Regions from separate parts of the Homo sapiens genome. Here region 1 is linked to region 2. The links are contacts of gene promoters, found by promoter capture Hi-C in blood cells and fetal thymus (Javierre and others, 2016). All regions are on one chromosome and are shown on one strand. The core of a region is centred on a gene start or on the middle of the fragment in contact, and the rest is flanking DNA. Distances in the headings are between cores, read along the strand shown. Region 1 has its middle 29 kb from the start of NLRP1. Region 2 holds the start of PITPNM3 (PITPNM family member 3).

What was found. Contacts are between HindIII fragments. The CHiCAGO score rates a contact against its expected background, and 5 or more counts as called.
Region 1: a contact is called between a fragment that was not itself captured here and the fragment with the promoter of PITPNM3 in region 2, in 2 of 17 cell types (M1 macrophages and total B cells). The highest score is 6.3, in M1 macrophages.

What each region holds. Positions count from the first base shown.
Region 1 is chr17:5,611,032-5,615,337 of GRCh38, reverse strand. No RefSeq gene overlaps it. Among named protein-coding and RNA genes, the nearest start is that of NLRP1, 29 kb to the right of the region's middle. The HindIII fragment of the contact is 494 bases long and covers 1,948-2,441 here.
Region 2 is chr17:6,554,905-6,559,350 of GRCh38, reverse strand. It overlaps PITPNM3 (PITPNM family member 3), which reads left to right and starts at 2,796. Exons shown (of 20, transcript NM_031220.4): 1 at 2,796-2,966. The coding sequence starts at 2,945. RefSeq lists an enhancer at 3,885-4,446. The HindIII fragment of the contact is 11,474 bases long and covers 1-4,446 here.

The DNA of each region.
Region 1 (4,306 bases), core at 945-3,444, 940 kb after region 2:
GTGGCTCACACCTATAATCCCAACACTTTGGGAGGCCGAGGTGGGCGGATCACAAGGTCAGGAGGTTGAGACCATCCTGGCTAACATGGTGAAACCCTGTCTCTACTAAAAATACAAAAAATTAGACGGGCATGGCGGCGGGTGCCTGTAGTCCCAGCTACTTGGGAGGCTGAGGCAGGAGAATTGCTTCAACCCGGGAGGCAGAGCTTGCAGTGAGCAGAGATCATGCTACTGCAATCCAGCCTGGGTGACAGAGTGAGACTCTGTCTCAAAAAATAGAATAAAATAATTAAAATCAAAATTTAAAAAAAAAAACAGGAGAGAAAAGAGGGGGCAGAAGTCACATACCATTGCCTGCCCTTTGTTAAAGCACTTTCTCAGAAGCTCTACCCAACCACTTCTGCTCCCAACCTGTTGGTCACCTCTAGCTGAAGAGAGGCTGGAACACTTGGTCCTTTAGTTAGACCCATTGCCACACGAAATAGAATTGGGGCTCTGTTATGAAGAACAAAGAAGAGAATGGATATTAGGGAGGCAACTAGCATTCCTGGCTTCAGCCTGTATAAGAAAGTCCCATGAGTCTCTGTCTCTCTCTCTCTGGGGCCATATGAAGAGATAGGAGATGCCCCCCAAAACCTGCCACTGCTGTTGCACCAGCTGAGGCCTCCTGCAAGAATCAGGAGCAACCCTCCCCTGAGCAGACAAGGTTGACCCAGTTGCTCAGGGGCTCACAGGCAGCCAGACTGGAGCCTACCCTGCAGGGGCAGTGGGAAGCTGTAAGCCTTTCAGCCCGGACCTTCCCTTCTCCTCCTCACTGGGTTGCAGGATGTGGCACCAAAGCTTGGAAATCTGAACTGTCCATGAAGGGGTCACCCATACAAGAAAAGAAATTACTGTTCTCAGCACCACTTTCAAAAAAGGAAAATTAGCCTAGAGTCACACTGAGAAGACCTTAGAGAGACCACATCAACCCAAGGGTGGGCGTGGAGGGTCAGTACTAGAAGTCCAGAAAAACAGAGAGCAGGGCTGGGAGTGGTGGTCACCACTTTCCATCCCAGCTCCTTCTCTCGGGATTTCACAAGTCCAGGGAATGAGGGTGATCCAACTGTATGGGTAGCAGCACTGGAAACTCCCCTGCGGAAGCTGGAGAGACGGTGAGGAAGGGGTGGCTTCTGACCTCAAAGAAATTACATCCCAAGGAACTCACGTTGAAACCCAAATCAGAACGTAAGGAACGAGGTTCAGATGCTGACCCTGGGGGAGATGGACTGAGGAGGGAGGTGTCCTTCCAGTTTGGGGACTCAGAGAAGCCTGAGGGGGGCTAAGCTATTTTTCAAGCATAAGGATGATTGGTTATGGATGATTGGGCAGCATCCTTTGAAAAGTCAGTGTGACATGAGCAAAGCTAGGAGAGGGGACCTTGACAGCTGGGGGCTTTGACTCTGTCCCTCCCTCTTCCTCCTGCTTTTCCTTGAGCCCGTGAATTTCCTTACTGCTTCCTAAGGTGGATGGAAGGAAGCACTTCCGTCTGAGGCTAGCACTTCAGGCCCGACTGATTGCTTCAGCAAGCAAGGACCCACTAGTGCTCCTCTACCCCAGCCCACACCCACTGCCTAGATTCTGTCCACACAGCACTGGCGCTCAGTGCAATCTTTTGGACAAATTAATGTGTGAACAAATACAATTGCAAGGGGGCCACCAGAGCAGCTGAACCTGCTCTTTGAGGGATGTTCTCCATGCAGAGAAACACCAGTCTACAAAATGGACTTGTTTCAGGTCCACCCAGGACTATGGCTCAAAGGGAAAAGTGACCCGTAAAATATGTTTGTGCAGTAAAACGAATGATCGTAGTGTCAATTATTTAGAAACAAGCCCCTAATGTGAACAATCAGAAGTGAGGAAAAATCGATACACTTCTTCTCATTGTGTAGAAATGGAAAACAAGCTTCATTTTACTCCAGCCCCAGGGAGAAAAGAGCAAATTAATGATTCCTGTCAAGGGCTCCTGTGCTACGTCTCTACCCAGGGCCTGGCTCAGGAAGGTGCCAGATAAATGGGTTAGGAGGGTTCTAATCTCAGGCCCAAAATGCCCAAGTGAATCCAGGGTGCACGCATGTGCACACAACACACATAACACACAGAGGTGTACATATGTGTTCTCAAGTGCCTTATGCATGCGCACCCATGTACACACATGCCTGCACATAGTCATACACATACATAGACACATCTGTCTACACACACACGAGCAAAGATGACATGTTCACTCACACAGGTGCACGTATGAATATTCACACACGTGTGTGAGTACCTGAACACGGATGGCTATACCACTCACTCACATAGATACTTACCTGTGGGTCTCAGGCATATCATGCTTGCTGAGTTCAATTACAGTGCTGTATGTGTTGTGGCCAACTAATAAAGGAATAGCTGAAGCTTGCAGCCGTCCTAGGAATCTGCTGGCTTCTTCACCCCTATTTCGCCACCAAAAGGGCTCCCCTTACCCAAGACATGTAGACTTTTATGGAGAGGTATACACTTAGAAAGTCATGTTGGGCCGGGCACAGTGGCTCACGCCTGTAATCCCAGTCCTTTGGAAGGCCAAGGCAGGCTGATCACCTGAGGTCAGGAGTTCGAGACCAGCCTGACCAGTGTGGTGAAACCCCCGTCTCTACTAAAAATACAAAAGTTAGCCAGGCTTAGTGGCACGTGCCTGTGATCCCAGCTACTCCAGAGGCTGAGGCAGGAGAATCACTTGAACCCGGGAGGCGGAAGCTGTAGTGAGCTGAGATCGCGCCACTGCACTCCAGCCTGGGCGACAGAGTGAGACTCTGTCTCAAAACAAAAGGACATGTTGTGCATACACATAAAGCACACATTTAGGAATACTCGTATTGGTTTCCTGTTGCTATTTGTAACCAACTACCACAAACTTCGTGACTCAAATTTGTCATCTTAGAGTTCTGGAGGTCAGAACTCCAAAATGAGACTACGAGGCTAAAATCACAGTGTCAGCAAGCCTGCGTTCCTTCTGAAAGCTCTAGGGGAGAATTTGTGTCCTTGCCTTTTCCAGCTTCTGAAGGCTGTGTGCATTCTTTGGCTCATGGCCCCTTCCTCTATCTTCAAGGCCAGCAGCATAGCAGTTCAAAGGTCTCTCTGATCCTCTCTCTTCTATTTATAACGACCCTTGTGATTACATTGAGCCCACCCAGATCATCCAGGATAATCTCCCTTTCTGAAGGTCAGATGATTAGCAACCTTAATTCCATCTGCAACCTTAATTCCTCTTTGTCATTTCCAGGGACTGGGATGGGGACATATTTGGAGGTCCATTATTCTGCCTACCACACTCACACACATTCAGAGTAAGGAGAACGGCAGCGTTTGCAGGATGAGAGGCAGAAAAGCTTGCTGGTAAGAGTATGGGTTTTAGGGTCAGATCCACCACTGAGGTTTTTTTGTTGTTGTTTGTTTGTTTTTTGTTTTTTGTTTTGAGATGGAGTCTCCCCCTGTCGCTTAGGCTGGAGTGCAATGGTGCCATCTCAGCTCACTGCAATCTCCCCTTCCCAGGTTCAAGCGATTCTCCTGCCTCAGCCTCCTGAGTAGCTGGGATCAGAGGCGCCACCACGCCCAGCTAATTTTTGTATTTTTAGTAGAGACAGCCTTTCACCATGTTGGCCAGGCTGGTCTCAAACTCCTGACCTCAGGCAATCTGCCCGCCTCAGCCTCCCACAGTGCTGGGATTGCAGGCGTGAGCCACCGAGCCCAGCCTCCACCACTGAGTTCTAACTCTGGCTCTGCCTCACATAGCTGTGTGACCTTGGGCCTGTTTCAGAACCTTTCTACACCTCAGTTTCAGCATCTGTGAAATGGAAATAATCACATCTACATTCTGGGATTATTATAAGGGTTAAATGAGATAATGCATGCAAAGTGACTGGTAGAGTACCCATCAGTCAGCTTTGGCTGCAAAACAAACAACAAAAATCTTACAGAGGAAACCCCTAAATTTTATCTCCCAAGGCTATATCGTAGTGGCCACACCTCCGGTTTGGTAAGACATTGTTTTGTTTTCCCACCGTGCAATTTCTGGCCTCTTTATAGTTCCTTAAAATTCTGCTTGCAAGCCGGCCACTTCCTCCTTGAGCTTAATGCAATTAGCAGTAGTCAGCACATACTTTCAACATCCTGCCCCAGATTTTTTTCATCCAATGTGACAAATGCTTCAGGCACATTCTTTACCTTCCAGACTATTCCAAGTGACAGCTTTGCCAAACGTTTTGCCATTACATAACATGAGTGC
Region 2 (4,446 bases), core at 1,547-4,046:
AGAACAAGCTGTGGTCAGAGGAAAGGGCCTGGGTGCCAGGTCTCAGAGAAGGGATTTGATCTGGTCTCCTGGCACAGTAACTCTGGTAACTGGGAGAGTTACTGGCACAGTAACTCTGGTAACTGGGAGGCCCCGTAGGCCCTGGCTGGCTCCTGCCTCTCTTTCCTCCGGGCAGCAGAGGTCAGCGTGGCTAAATTGCTAGTTATCCCTTTCTTCAATTAAGGACAATTCTTCTGACGCAGGAAGTTAACTCCCACCAGTTAATCTAATGGCCTTGAGTTTTGATGTGTTTGCTCTGTCAGAAGGCTGGGCTGGAACTTCCTTGGCAGCTGGTAACAGTCAGTGCCTTCAGGGGCTGCCTTAGGGGCGGACAGAGGCTGGGGTGAAGGTTTAAAGAGGGGAACCATGGATCTGGGCCTCTGAGTCGTGGTTTTCAGGGGACAGATCTGGCTTACTGTCTTCCCATCTGAGAAATGGGGTGTGGAGTGGTCTGGAGAGATGAGTTCTGAAACTCCCATCAACTTGGCACCTCCCCTTAACCGCTCCACCCAGGCCCTTCTGGGTGACTAGTTTAGGGTTTGTGAGGACTAAGTGGTGGGAGGGGAAGGGGTCTGGGTGCCCACCCAGGGAGCATCTGTCAGCAGGTGTTTGCCTGTGTTTGTGTGTACGAGTGTGCCTACACACACCCATGCATGCATCCCTAAGCACACACAAGCACACACACATACACCCCATGCACACATACCCAGGCACACACACAAACACAACGTGAAGCTGTGCCCAGAAGCAGGAGGGCCCTTGATGCCCTCTGGTCACTGCTGCTACTGTGAGCCAGGGCTGGGGAGGAGCTCAGGCCCAGGCGTGTCCCCTCTGTGGCAGGCGCATTGCTTCTTCTGCAGCCAGCGTTCTGTCTCCTGCGTGACCACTCACACCTACAGACCAGGTGGCCAAGCCTGGACATTGTCCAGGCTATCAGGCCTCTGAAACACCTCAGGGAAGGGTGAGGCCAGTGAGGCCCAGTAGACAAAGCACAGGGGCCTGAAATTGATCCTCCATGACCACAAGCACCGAACTTTCTTAGCCCCCACTTCGTTATGTGTATGCTGAGGATAACGCAATGTAGCTGAGAGAGTACATGAGGGTAAATACCGCCTGTTCAATCAATAGTCCTTGTTATTCTCATCCCCAGTCCCATTCTCATAGTGGGGAAAGGCTGCAGGGTCCATTCCTGCTCTCCCAGCTGGTGACCAATGGCAGGTGCTGGTGAACAGCGTTGGATTCAGGAGCCCAGAGCTTCTGAAATTCTACATCTGTTGGAGTTGGTGCTGTCATCTGGCTCTGGGATCCAGAGCTCTTGGGACTCATGGGTTTCCTGGGAGGTGAGCTCTGGCAAACGTGGATGGTTGTTCTCCCTGGGTGAATCCATACTAGGGAGTTTGGGTAGAAGGCCTTGGGAAGCCCTGGTTTTGTTGGGTGAGGTGTCGGAAGGCAGAGCAGAACTCATGGATGGGACATGCGGGTTGTAGATTTCAGCTCAAACGAGTAAGAACATTCTTAAGGCCAGCACTAGCCAAAAAAAAAAAAAAAAAATTAATAAAAGGAAGAACTCTCACTTAAGATACTGAGCTTCCTGTCCTTGGAGGTAACCAACCAGGAGCTGGAGGACTGCTTAGCAGGAATCTTGTGAATGGAGTCAAAGCCCCAGAGAAGGCACTGGACTGAGAGCCCCCATCTAACCCCATGTGTGCCCTGTTTCCATAGAGGAGCTTGCAGGACCCTGGAGCCTGGACCATGGATGGAATTCTCCAGTTGACCTTTTCCCTGTTAAGTGGAGTGGGACAGGGTGGGTTGGGTGCCTGGCTCTACAGATGGTAACTGGGCTTCAGCCTTACCAATTCCTGGGGGAGGCAGGGCACCCTCTCAGTGGAGGGTTGTTACCTCTCAGGCACCGCCAAATACAATTGGCCATCTCCTGCTCTCTTTTGGGGCTGGACTGTGGATCCCTGCTGCCCCTAAACAGAAGTCATAACCCATATCTCCCCGGACCACAAGGCCTGTCCACTAGAATCTCTGCATCCCGATTTAGGAAGTGGAAGGCGGGTACTGCTCACCACCAGGCCGCTGGGGTCCACAAAGCCTGCTCCAGCCTAGAACCCCAGGTGGATGTGCAAGTGTTTTACTTATCCCTTGAGGGTTAAAATCACGGGAATCCTTTCTCTTTTGAGGTTAGGTCAGACGCCATAAATGATCCAGAACCCCTGGAGCGGGGGCTGATGGAGGGGGTCCCTCTCTTGTCTCTGATCCCAGAGCGACTTTCCTCTTGACTTCGTGGGGGCCTCCCTTGGATCCCTGTCCTCCTTCCTCTCTCCGCTCCCTCTGTCCGTCTCTCCCGGAGCCGGAGCCGGGCTCTGGGTCTCTGGTCTCCTCTGAATTTCTCTCTCTCTCCCTCCACCTCGGCGTTCTGGCCCTAGGAGCGTCTCTCTCCAGCGCTGTCTAATAGTCTGTGCGCCCCTCTCCCAGTCCAGGGCCCCGTCTCTGGCCCGCAGTGTCTCGGGCTGTCTCCGCGTCTCTGAGCCCCTGGGCTGCCGCCCCTCGCGCGCTGCGGTGGCCGCGCGGGCCGGAGCGGAGCGGGCTGGAGCGCGGCGGCCACGGCCCGGGGCGGGGGTGCGGGCCCGCGGGGGCGGCGTTGGGCGCCTTCCTTCGTCAGTCCCTCCCCGGCGGCGCGGGGGGTGGGGTGGGGGGGGGGCGCGGCCGCCGCTCGGCGCCTTTAAGGGAGCGGGAGGGAGCGGCGAGGCGGCGGCGGCTGCGGTGGCGGCAGCCGAGGCGAGCGGGGCGGGGGCGCGGGCGCGGCGCTCGGAGTCCGTTCGGGGCCGGAGGCGGTCGGGGCCGGGCCCGGGAAGCGCGAGGAGCGCGCGTAGCGCCGCCGGAGCCCGCCGCCCGGGACATGGCCAAGGCGGGCCGTGCAGGTGAGGGCGGGCGCGGGGAGGGCAGGGCCGGGGCCCGGGGGAGGGACTCGCGCGTCTAGAGGAGGGGCCGCCGGCCCAGGTGAACCCCTCGCGCAGGTGGGCGGAGGTCCCGGGAGGGCGTAGGGGGCGGTAGCGGGGCTGGACCTCCCGCGCGTGGAGAGGGGGCTCCGCGCGCCCCCCGTCCTTCCTGCGCCCCCGGTCACCTCGGGGGACACCGCGTCCCCTTCTCCACGGCCCCGCCGGAAAGGGCCAGGTCTGCGGCGCCCCGGGCCAGTCCCGCCGTTGGGAGCCCTCTGCACCCCGCGGAGGCCCCGGGCAGACCCGGGCTTCGCCACCGAAGGGGATGTCCCGCGGCCGCCGCTTCGTCCCACACCCCAACGCAAACCGGGACGCGCCCCCTGCTCCTGCAGCTCTCTCCATCCAGGACGCCACAACCCCCCGCCCCAGCCCCCGTCACCAGCTCAGTCCAGAGACCCAGATTCCTTCTCGGGAAGGAGGGGAGCCCCGTGCCGCGCCGGCTGCTGGCCGCCCCGCCCCCTCCCCCATCGACCCTGGGACGCAAAGCCTCAGCTGCGGAGGCCTCTTCTGGGGTCCCGTGGGCTCTGCCCTCCCCCAGGCTCAGACGGTGTAGCCTGTGGTTTGAGGGAGCGGGCATTAGTCATTCGTTCATTCATCCAGCCCGACGTTCATTCACTAGCATCTGCTCTGTGCCAGACCCTGAGCTGGGCACCGGGGCTCAGGCGGACTCAGCCCCCCTGCTGCGCCCATGCTGGGGAGACCCAGGCCCGTGACTCATCGGGCACATTCTGGGCCCGATGGTGCCTTGGGAGGCGGGTGGAGGACAGCTGTGCCCACAGGGCCGGCCATACAGTAGGCGGCAGCAAGCCTGGTCTCGGCAGTGCCTCTTGTGAGGCTGGCGTGTGAGAATCTACCATGAACTCACACCCAACCCGTGACGTTGGCTGGTGCCATGCCGTCCCCCAGGACCGGGCGCGACAGTGAAGGAATGGGTGTGAATACCATCGGGCTGTGTGTCAATCCACCCCCAAGCCCGAAAGCTGCCCGGGACCCTGGGCTGCGGACCCGTCTCCCTGTGCAGGCACTGAGCCTGTAAGATTTAGGTGCCTGAGAATGCACTCCCGTTCTGTCCCCAAGGAGTCCTGTCGGGGTGGGGCCGGTTGTGTGAGGCACAGCCAGTATGGAACACAGCTAAACAGCCTTCTCACTCCCCTCCCTTTTCCCCTCCTGAGGGAGGCACTGTGAGATGACACCAAGGAAGCTGAAAAAGGCTTCTTGCCTCCCTCTTTCCTCCACCGTGCCTGGGTCCTCACCCACCCCGACTCCTTAAAATGGCCTGTGGCAGGGCGTGTGTCCCATCTGCTGCCCTACCCTGTGTGTGTGTGAGTGTGTGTGTGCACTGGGACGCCTTGAGCACAGGTCACCTGCCAGGGCACTGTCATCGCAACGGCAGTGAACATTT